3 separate regions of the Homo sapiens genome follow, and regions 2 and 3 are each linked to region 1. Evidence: promoter capture Hi-C in 16 types of primary human blood cells and fetal thymus (Javierre and others, 2016). All regions are on one chromosome and are shown on one strand. The core of a region is centred on a gene start or on the middle of the fragment in contact, and the rest is flanking DNA. Distances in the headings are between cores, read along the strand shown. Region 1 holds the start of FOXB1 (forkhead box B1). Region 2 overlaps LOC105370839 (a long non-coding RNA gene). Region 3 has its middle 84 kb from the start of BNIP2.

What was found. Contacts are between HindIII fragments. The CHiCAGO score rates a contact against its expected background, and 5 or more counts as called.
Region 2: a contact is called between a fragment that was not itself captured here and the fragment with the promoter of FOXB1 in region 1, in 1 of 17 cell types (activated CD4 T cells). The highest score is 5.4, in activated CD4 T cells.
Region 3: a fragment that was not itself captured here is called in contact with the fragment with the promoter of FOXB1 in region 1 in 1 of 17 cell types (non-activated CD4 T cells); the score reaches 5.4 in non-activated CD4 T cells.

What each region holds. Positions count from the first base shown.
Region 1 is chr15:60,003,057-60,005,756 of GRCh38, forward strand. FOXB1 (forkhead box B1) reads left to right here and starts at 1,255. Exons shown (of 2, transcript NM_012182.3): 1 at 1,255-1,587; 2 at 1,851-2,700. The coding sequence starts at 1,908. RefSeq lists an enhancer at 936-1,451. The HindIII fragment of the contact is 10,028 bases long and covers 1-2,700 here.
Region 2 is chr15:60,168,942-60,171,880 of GRCh38, forward strand. All of the region lies in intron 1 of LOC105370839 (a long non-coding RNA gene), which reads left to right. Among named protein-coding and RNA genes, the nearest start is that of FOXB1, 170 kb to the left of the region's middle. The HindIII fragment of the contact is 4,724 bases long and covers 1-2,939 here.
Region 3 is chr15:59,771,855-59,774,685 of GRCh38, forward strand. No RefSeq gene overlaps it. Among named protein-coding and RNA genes, the nearest start is that of BNIP2, 84 kb to the left of the region's middle. The HindIII fragment of the contact is 5,162 bases long and covers 1-2,831 here.

The DNA.
Region 1 (2,700 bases), core at 5-2,504:
ATAATGATTCATTTAACCCTTCCAAGGCGAATCCGAACCGAAGGGAGCCTGCTGCTCGCACCAGGCGGAGTGACCCAAGGCACATTCCCCGCTCCCCAAGAAGGAAAACTCTATGGTTCTTTCCCCAAGTTGTAGAAGATACTGCTGTCTTAGTGGGATCGCAGGCGGCTTTTGCTACACTCTAAATCCTAAATAAGTTCTCCATACCAAAAAAAGCGGCAGTTGGGGGATGGGGGGTGGGAGGTTGGGGGGGTGGGAGGGCTGGGAAGGGGAGTTCCGGGTGTAAAATGAAAACTTCCAGGATGTGCCTGAGTCCTAAAGTTTCAAACCACCTGGGAAAAGCGAGAGCCCCTGAGGCTTACCTGGTGATAAACTGTGTCAAACAAACTCAGGCCCTCCCCAGGTCCGCACAACATTTGCCCCAACAGCTCCTGAGCCTCCATCCTGTGTCCAACCAAATTCCCGGAGGACTTTTAAAGCAAATACCTGGACTCTTCGCCCAGATACACTATTTTAATTTTTAAAAATTTGGTCAATACAGTTACATTCAAAATGGGTTCTTACATGGGGATGTCCAATCACATTTTGAAAGTATTTGTAAACCCCATCACTTTTTCAAAGCTACACACTAACTATACAAAGCTGAAGCAGCTGCATAGGAAAGTCAAGTCAAATTTCGACCTAACTCTCCGGGGACTGGGGGGCAAGGGTGTGTTTTCATTATTATAACCCATGCAACCAACCCCGGGTAGTGCTAAGCGCAGGAAAAGGGTCGGCTTCAGGGGAAAGCCGTGCCTAAAGTTACCTAACGATACAAACCGGATACAACGCAGAGGAAACAGAATACCCCAGCCAAGCAATTTCCATGTCAAACATCATCCGCGCGGCTGCTCCATCTGTGAACGTGAGTGGTCGCCTGGCTCCCTCTTCCGCGGCGGCCGCTTCCTCATACCTTCACACGGCGCACACCGGCCGGCGCGTCCAGCTGCCTGCCCAGTGGCCGAGGCTCTTCCCCCTCGCCCAGTCTTGAGCTGGAAGTGATTCCTATTGGCCAAGGTGTCCATGTAAATAGGTGTGAAAGAAACCAGAGCTGGCCGGGCTCTCCCTTCTCGCTCAGTCCCCTCCCTCTGCAGCCCCCGCTCCCCCTCCTCTTCCTCCTCCTCCCAAGGCGATTGTCATATGATAGCTAAGAAGTGGCACATTAATGAAGCGCCGCTACAGGGGTCTTTTCTGCTCCTGTCACCGCTTAAAACTATCAGATGGTTCGAGGGAGGACATGGAGGCAGCCACCTAGCTCAGCGGAGACGCGGAGCCCACAGCAGCGCCCTCCGGAGCCCTAACACGTCGCTGCCACCATCCGCGCCGGGACTCCGCAGCCGAGCTCGGCCGCCCGCAGGACGCTCCAGGAGCGTCGCGGACCGGGCGGCACGGGACGCTGCGGGGCTGAGCTCAAGAGCCCAGGTTCGCGCCGAGTCCAACCGGACCCGGACGCTGCGCGCGGAGTGCGCGTCGAGTGCGCGCCGAGAGAGAAGCGGCGCGCAGCGGCGTCCTCCCGGATGCGGACGCGCAACTTGAAGCAACTTTAAGGTGAGCAGCTCTCTGTTCCGTCCCTGCCCCCTATTCTGGCCCCAGTACCGACTTACTTCCCGGCTATCCTCGCGCCGTTCGCCGGCTTCCCCTCCCGCGCCCACTAAGCCCGCAAAGTTGCTGGCGAAAGAGTCCGGGCGCTGGCTGATCGAGCGCCGCAGGCCCCACCCCCGACCCCCGAAGTCTGTTACTCGGTCTGGCTGACCCCGCCGGTGTCTCTGTGCATCCATGCTACCTTTCCCTATTACCCACCCCCTTCCCAGATCCGAGCAGTCCGCCGGCCCGCGCGGACCCAGAGCAAGAAGAGGGCGAGGAAGAAGATGCCTCGGCCCGGCCGCAACACGTACAGCGACCAGAAGCCGCCCTACTCGTACATCTCGCTGACCGCTATGGCCATCCAGAGCTCTCCCGAGAAGATGCTGCCGCTGAGCGAGATCTACAAGTTCATCATGGACCGCTTCCCCTACTACAGGGAGAACACGCAGCGCTGGCAGAACAGTCTGCGCCACAACCTCTCCTTCAACGACTGCTTCATCAAGATCCCGCGGCGGCCGGACCAGCCAGGCAAGGGCAGCTTCTGGGCGCTGCACCCAAGCTGCGGGGACATGTTCGAGAACGGCAGCTTCCTGCGGCGCCGCAAGCGCTTCAAGGTGCTTAAGTCCGACCACCTGGCGCCCAGCAAGCCAGCCGACGCGGCGCAGTACCTGCAGCAGCAGGCCAAGCTGCGGCTCAGCGCGCTGGCGGCCTCGGGCACGCACCTGCCACAGATGCCCGCCGCCGCCTACAACTTGGGCGGCGTGGCGCAGCCCTCGGGCTTCAAGCACCCCTTCGCCATCGAGAACATCATCGCGCGGGAATACAAGATGCCTGGGGGGCTGGCCTTCTCCGCCATGCAGCCGGTGCCCGCTGCCTACCCGCTCCCCAACCAGTTGACTACCATGGGCAGCTCGCTGGGCACCGGCTGGCCACACGTGTATGGCTCCGCCGGCATGATCGACTCGGCCACCCCCATCTCCATGGCGAGTGGCGACTACAGCGCCTACGGCGTGCCGTTGAAGCCGCTGTGCCACGCGGCGGGCCAAACGCTGCCCGCCATCCCCGTGCCCATTAAGC
Region 2 (2,939 bases), core at 368-2,867, 170 kb after region 1:
CCTCCTGGAATAGAAATAAATAGCATTGGTAGTTTCAATTACATCCCCTCCCCACTTTCACTTAAATCATGAATCTAGATTTACACAAGATTTATACACTTCTGACCACAAATGGGCCTCCACATACCTTCATTTTCTTGTGCCATGCACATGAAAGAGAAGGGAAAGAAAGATTTTTTTTCCCCTTTGGTTTGCCTGGACATGGCACGAGGAAACATGAGCATTAGTGATGTCTAGCTTTCTCAGTTCTTGGCCTTTGAGGGCAAACAAGGCTCCTTTCCAGGTAGACACTGACCAAAGGCCTTAAAGCATGAGTGTCTCAGTTTGTTTTGGCTGCTATGACAAAATACCTTAAACTGGGTAATTTACAAATAATAGAAATTAATTGTCACAGTTCTGCAGGCTGGAAAGTCCAAGATCAGCATGCTGGCAGATTCAATGTCTGATGAGTCCTCCCCCTTTGCTCCATAGATGGCACCATGTCGCTGCATCCTCACATGGCAGAAAGCATGAACAGCTCCCTAGCACCTCTTTTATAAGGTCACTAATCCCATTTATGTGGGCTCTGACCTCATGACTTAATCACCCCTTAATACTATCACATTGGCAAGTAAGTTTCAACATATGAATTTTGGGGTCGCACTCAGACCACGGCAATGGGAAAATTAATATTTGTTTTCATATAACAGGGCATTTGATTCTCCTCTCTGCCATTAGCATGCAACAAGCCATGTAACCTTCCAGGTTTACAGAAGGCAAACCTCAACCACTGACTCCTCCTGGGTGCTTTTTGATCCAGTAGTCTGTATGGCCTACAGGTAGACCGCTTCCTTCAATCACTGCTTGAGGAATCACTGGAGGAGGAGTCTTATTGCGATGAGAGACTGTCTGGGTCCCATGTTGTCAGGGGCAGGCCCAAGAGACAGAGAGTTGTAGGATGGGCATATAGAAGTAGGGCAGTTGCTAATAATTGTCTTAATAAGTTATTCTAGATTTGCCAGGCCTGCACCTCAGCAGTTGCAAGCCACTTTTACTTCTGGGGTATATTTTTTCTTTTAAATTATTTTTATAGTTTCTTAAATTAAAAAATTATAAGCTCATTATAAAATAGCACCTGAAGCACACAAATTAAAAGTAAGAATTTTTTTGATTTTTGAGGCAGGGTCTCAGTCTTTCACCCAAGATGGAGTGTGCAGTGGCACATTCACAGCTCACTGCAGCCTTCACCTCCCAGGCTCGAGCAACCCTTCCACCTCAGTCTCCTGCATAGCTGGGACTAAACGCATGTGCCACCATGCCTGGCTAATTTTATTTATTTTTTGGAGAGACAGGGTTTCCCTATGTTGTCCAGGCTGGTCTTGAACTGGGCTTAAGCAATCCTCTGGCCTCAGCCTCCAAAAGTGCTGGGATTATAGCATGAGCCACCATGCCCAGCCTAAAAGTAAGAATGTCTAAGTTTCTTTCCCCAATCATCCCATTCCTTCACAGTTAACACTTTTGCTCCCAGCATTCTTTACAAATTCTGCTTCTGAAACCTGTGTTACTCTGAATTTGTCCATTGTCTTTTACTGCCCTGGCCTCTAACTTTGGATACACCCTTAACTTGATGTCTGCCACAGGACCTTGAGTTAGGTTCCCATTCACAACAGCTTGGCCTTGACAGCTTCAGTTCAGCCACTTGCCATGTTTAAGCTGGGTTTTCTCCAATTTAAATACTTTCATTTTTTAAAGAGCTGCCTGGCCTTCCTCTCATCAGCTATAGAAGAGATTTAGTGGTGGTGGTTTTACAAGCTAAAATACAATCAAGAAGTTGTGAATAAGACATTCTAGCCTAGAAGGAATGAATGGTATCTCCTAAACTCTAAGGAAATATTGATTACAGTATTTAATCATGGAGAGTATGGAAGAAAATAACAAAATACTATATTAAGCATATTTATGAACTGTAACATGATTTTATGAACTATAAAACATTAACTTCATTTTCTTAAGGTACACTTTTGAGTCAAGAGGATATGATACTTTCACTCATTCACTTTTCACATTGTGAACTGAGATCCCTACATACCTCTCCCCCTTCTTTTGACATCGTCTGCCCTAATATGTTCTCTTAGGTAACTGTGATGTTAAAAGATAAATAGCCTCAAATACTGGATGTCTAATGTGAACATGAGTTGGGACATGAATTAGTCTAAATCATCTGGACATTTTGCACTGGCACACCCACCTTTGCTAACAAAAGTTTGTCTGGGATGATTTTCCCATTAGGAATCCTGCCCATGGCCCTTTAAAAATAAATCATACCTGTAGAAGATCCTTCTTTCCATGGTTATGGCAGAAAGCATGGGTCTTAGTTCCAAGTCTAGAATTAGATGACATGGATAGAATCTAGAAATACCAAGGCTGGGTAAAGAACATAAAACTGAGAGTGATCTCTTGTTTCAGGATGAGGTTCCCAAATGAGGTTATGTGATGAGACAACCACTCATATAGCAACAGGCATCACACAGACCACTTCTTAATATCTCTTCACCAGTCAACTGACATTCCTCCAACAGAGTTGTAAGGGCCGATCTATATGAGATGGTCAAGCAACAAGGCTGGCCTGATGAATGAGTGCAATTTGAGACCTTCCAGGTATCATGAACCCACCCACTCCATTATGACATCTAAAATTCTCCTACCATAAATTAATTTATTTGCATTTACGAGTCCCCGTTGAGTCACTAGGAAAAGCAGTAACTTAAGCTGTTGTCATTTAACTAAAGCATGCTTTGAAAGCTACCAGTACCCAAGGTTGAGGAATATAAAGGAAATACAAAGTAGGTGAAAATGGACATTTAAAGGGAAGTTAAGTTGTCAAAACCAAATTGCAGTCTTTTCTTTATTTTGCTTATGGTTTGCCCTCTTTTGGAAAATTTTCTTCCAAGCAGCGGAAA
Region 3 (2,831 bases), core at 248-2,747, 230 kb before region 1:
GCATCTCCTGGGGAGTCGTGTTACAGAAATCTCTTCCTTATAACCAGCTTCTTCTGCATTCAGGTTTCTCTTTATGTTGTGAAGATCCATGCATTTGCATGGAATCTTCTTCTTCATCTGCCTCACCCCTTCTTCCTCAGCCCATAACAGGCCCTGGTGCACTGGACCTTATTGGTTGCGTTAAGGAGGGCTTACAGTGAAGAACATGATACTGTATGTCAAACTCTGCCAAAGGAGAGGAAACTGAACCCCCTGACATCTTCTAAGCCATGGAATTGACTACGCTAAGGAACAATGGAAATGGAATGTTATGGCAAAAGTAATTTGGCACTTGGGAAAGGTTACCATTGTTTTGAGAAGTGATCTGTTTGATGTGACTAAATGTTAGCTTTCACAAAGGATTAAAGACTATTTTATGCATTCCTGCTGTATGTACTATCGCACCAGACGCTGTGTGAGACACAACATAAATGACATGTTACTTGTTAGGTTGAAAAGAACTACTTTCTGTCTGGTTCAGCAGAATACATTATATTACTATTTTTGTTCAGTGAATTCAATGAACACACAGAGGGAACTGGTGGTTTTGGTACAATGCAGACTCTTTTATTTTTTCTCTTCTTTTCTTTTCTTTTTTGAGCCTCTGTTGCTCAGGCTGGAGTGCATGCTCATAGCTCACTGGGGGTTCGACCTCCTGGGTTCAAATGATCCTTCTGCATCAGCCTCCAGAGTAGCTGGGACTACAGGTACACACTACCATACCTGGCTTAATTTTTTTCTTGTTTGCCTACTGTATGCTTCTTAGAACTGTGTGTATCTGTGTGCAGGACTGCACACACACACACACACACACACAACGTAAACTTTCTGAGAATCTAAATGACAACAGAACTTTTCTGACATCTAGTTTCTCTGACAGCCAATAACTGAAACAGTCAGCTGCAATTTACCTGTACAACAGAGTTCTGACTGTTCATTGCTTTAATAGCCATTAGGACAGGCTGTTTTGCTTGAAAAAAATTAAATCTTTTGTTTAATATCTATGGAGTTTCTGCCTGGTGCATAGGGAGACCTAGTTTCCTGTGCCTGCAACAGTGCTGTTAACAGCTTCCACCCCACCCAATGGGCTCTGTAAAACACCTCATTCAACCTCTTCATTCTGACTCCATGGTGAATCTCTCCAGAGGGAATCTGAGCCACTCATATTTCTCTGTGCTGGTTCTAATTCCCTTTTGTTGCTGCCTTTCTATCACTCTGTTTGCATTGTCTTTTCGGTACATGACCGACACTTATTTTGGGATGTGGTTTCTCAGAAGCTCACTCCTTGCCCTACCAGATCAGGGTCTCAGAGCCAAATCAGAGACCCGAGCTTCTGACTACCTCAGAGAGGAAGATCAGACATCGACATGCATTTTAGTCCTCACTATGTCACACAGCCTACAAATGCGAAAATGGGTTTCCTACCATCTTCACATTTGCGTGAGACTTAATCATGCAAATGAAAGATCTGTTACATCCTAAAAGGACAACCTTTTAATTCTTTGAGGTTTGTGGAAGAATTATGAAAAACACAGTGCCCGTGATACCAAATGAAGAGGCTGGTGGGGAGCGGTGGCTCAAGCCTGCAATCCCAGCACTTTGGGAAGCTAAGGCGGGTGAATCACCTGAGGTCAGGCGTTCGAGACCAGTCTAGCCAACATGGTGAAAACTGTCTCTACTAAAAATGCAAAAATTAGCCAGGCATGGTGGTGTGCACCATAATCCCAGCTACTTGGGGGGCTGAGGCAGGAGAATCGCTTGAACCCAGAGGCGGAGGTTGCAGTGAGCTGAGATCATGCCACTGTACTCCAGACTGGGTGACAGAGTGAGACTTTGTCTCAAAACAGAAACAAAAACAAAAACAAATGAACAGGATGGAATCTCACTGTAGACACATGCTGAAATACAAGGACCTGGGGTTCAAGCGGAAAGGGAAGTGAAAGTTTTTCTCCCTATTTGCCCCGTTTGGCCAGTCATCCTTTTAGTGATATTTTCCATTTAAAGTATATACAGGAAAAGCCACCAGGAAGAAAATAGAAGCAGGGCCATTTTCTTTAGCAATTTTAGCAATCAGGAAAATCAAGCCTTAACTCTCAAGTACACACCTCCTCTGCCTTGTTTAGAGGTTCTCCTAGCGGCTGTGTCATTCCCTCTCACCTTGCTGGTTTCCTTGGTATTGCTTGCTGCAGAGGCATGAAAAGTAGAAGGCCCACATGGCCCTATCTCTTCCAGTAAATATCTGACAAATCACTGGGGTTAGGATGTATGACCAACAGTTTGTTGTGAGGATTAAAGGAAACAGTTATGTGAAAAACACCCAGCACATTAACTGCCAAATAGTGAGACTCAATACATTCTACCTGTTTGTTTATGTATGGATTTGTTTATTTGCTTGTACATGTATATGCCTACCATGATTCCAGAGAGGATTTAAGGCAGCTTACCAAAATAATCACAGAGTCTAATGTGATATAAGATTCTGAGCGCTAGAGTTAAAATACAGAGAAGATTCTCTCTATGTTTTTCCCACATCTTACCATTCAGCACCACCAATTTCTGCTCATAAATGCGTCTTGCAAGGCATTTTCTATTTAAGTTAATATGTCTGTGTTTACAAGAACGGCCCTGAGAGAAGCCATCTGCACATTGCATAAAAGTTCCAAACAGAACCCCATTGACTCTGTCACTATTCCTGGGATTTAGGTCCTCAGAGACAATTAACACCACCATGGAGAAGGCAGACTCCATAAATATTAAGAGATCACCAAAGTATACCTGTGTCCAACCAGACA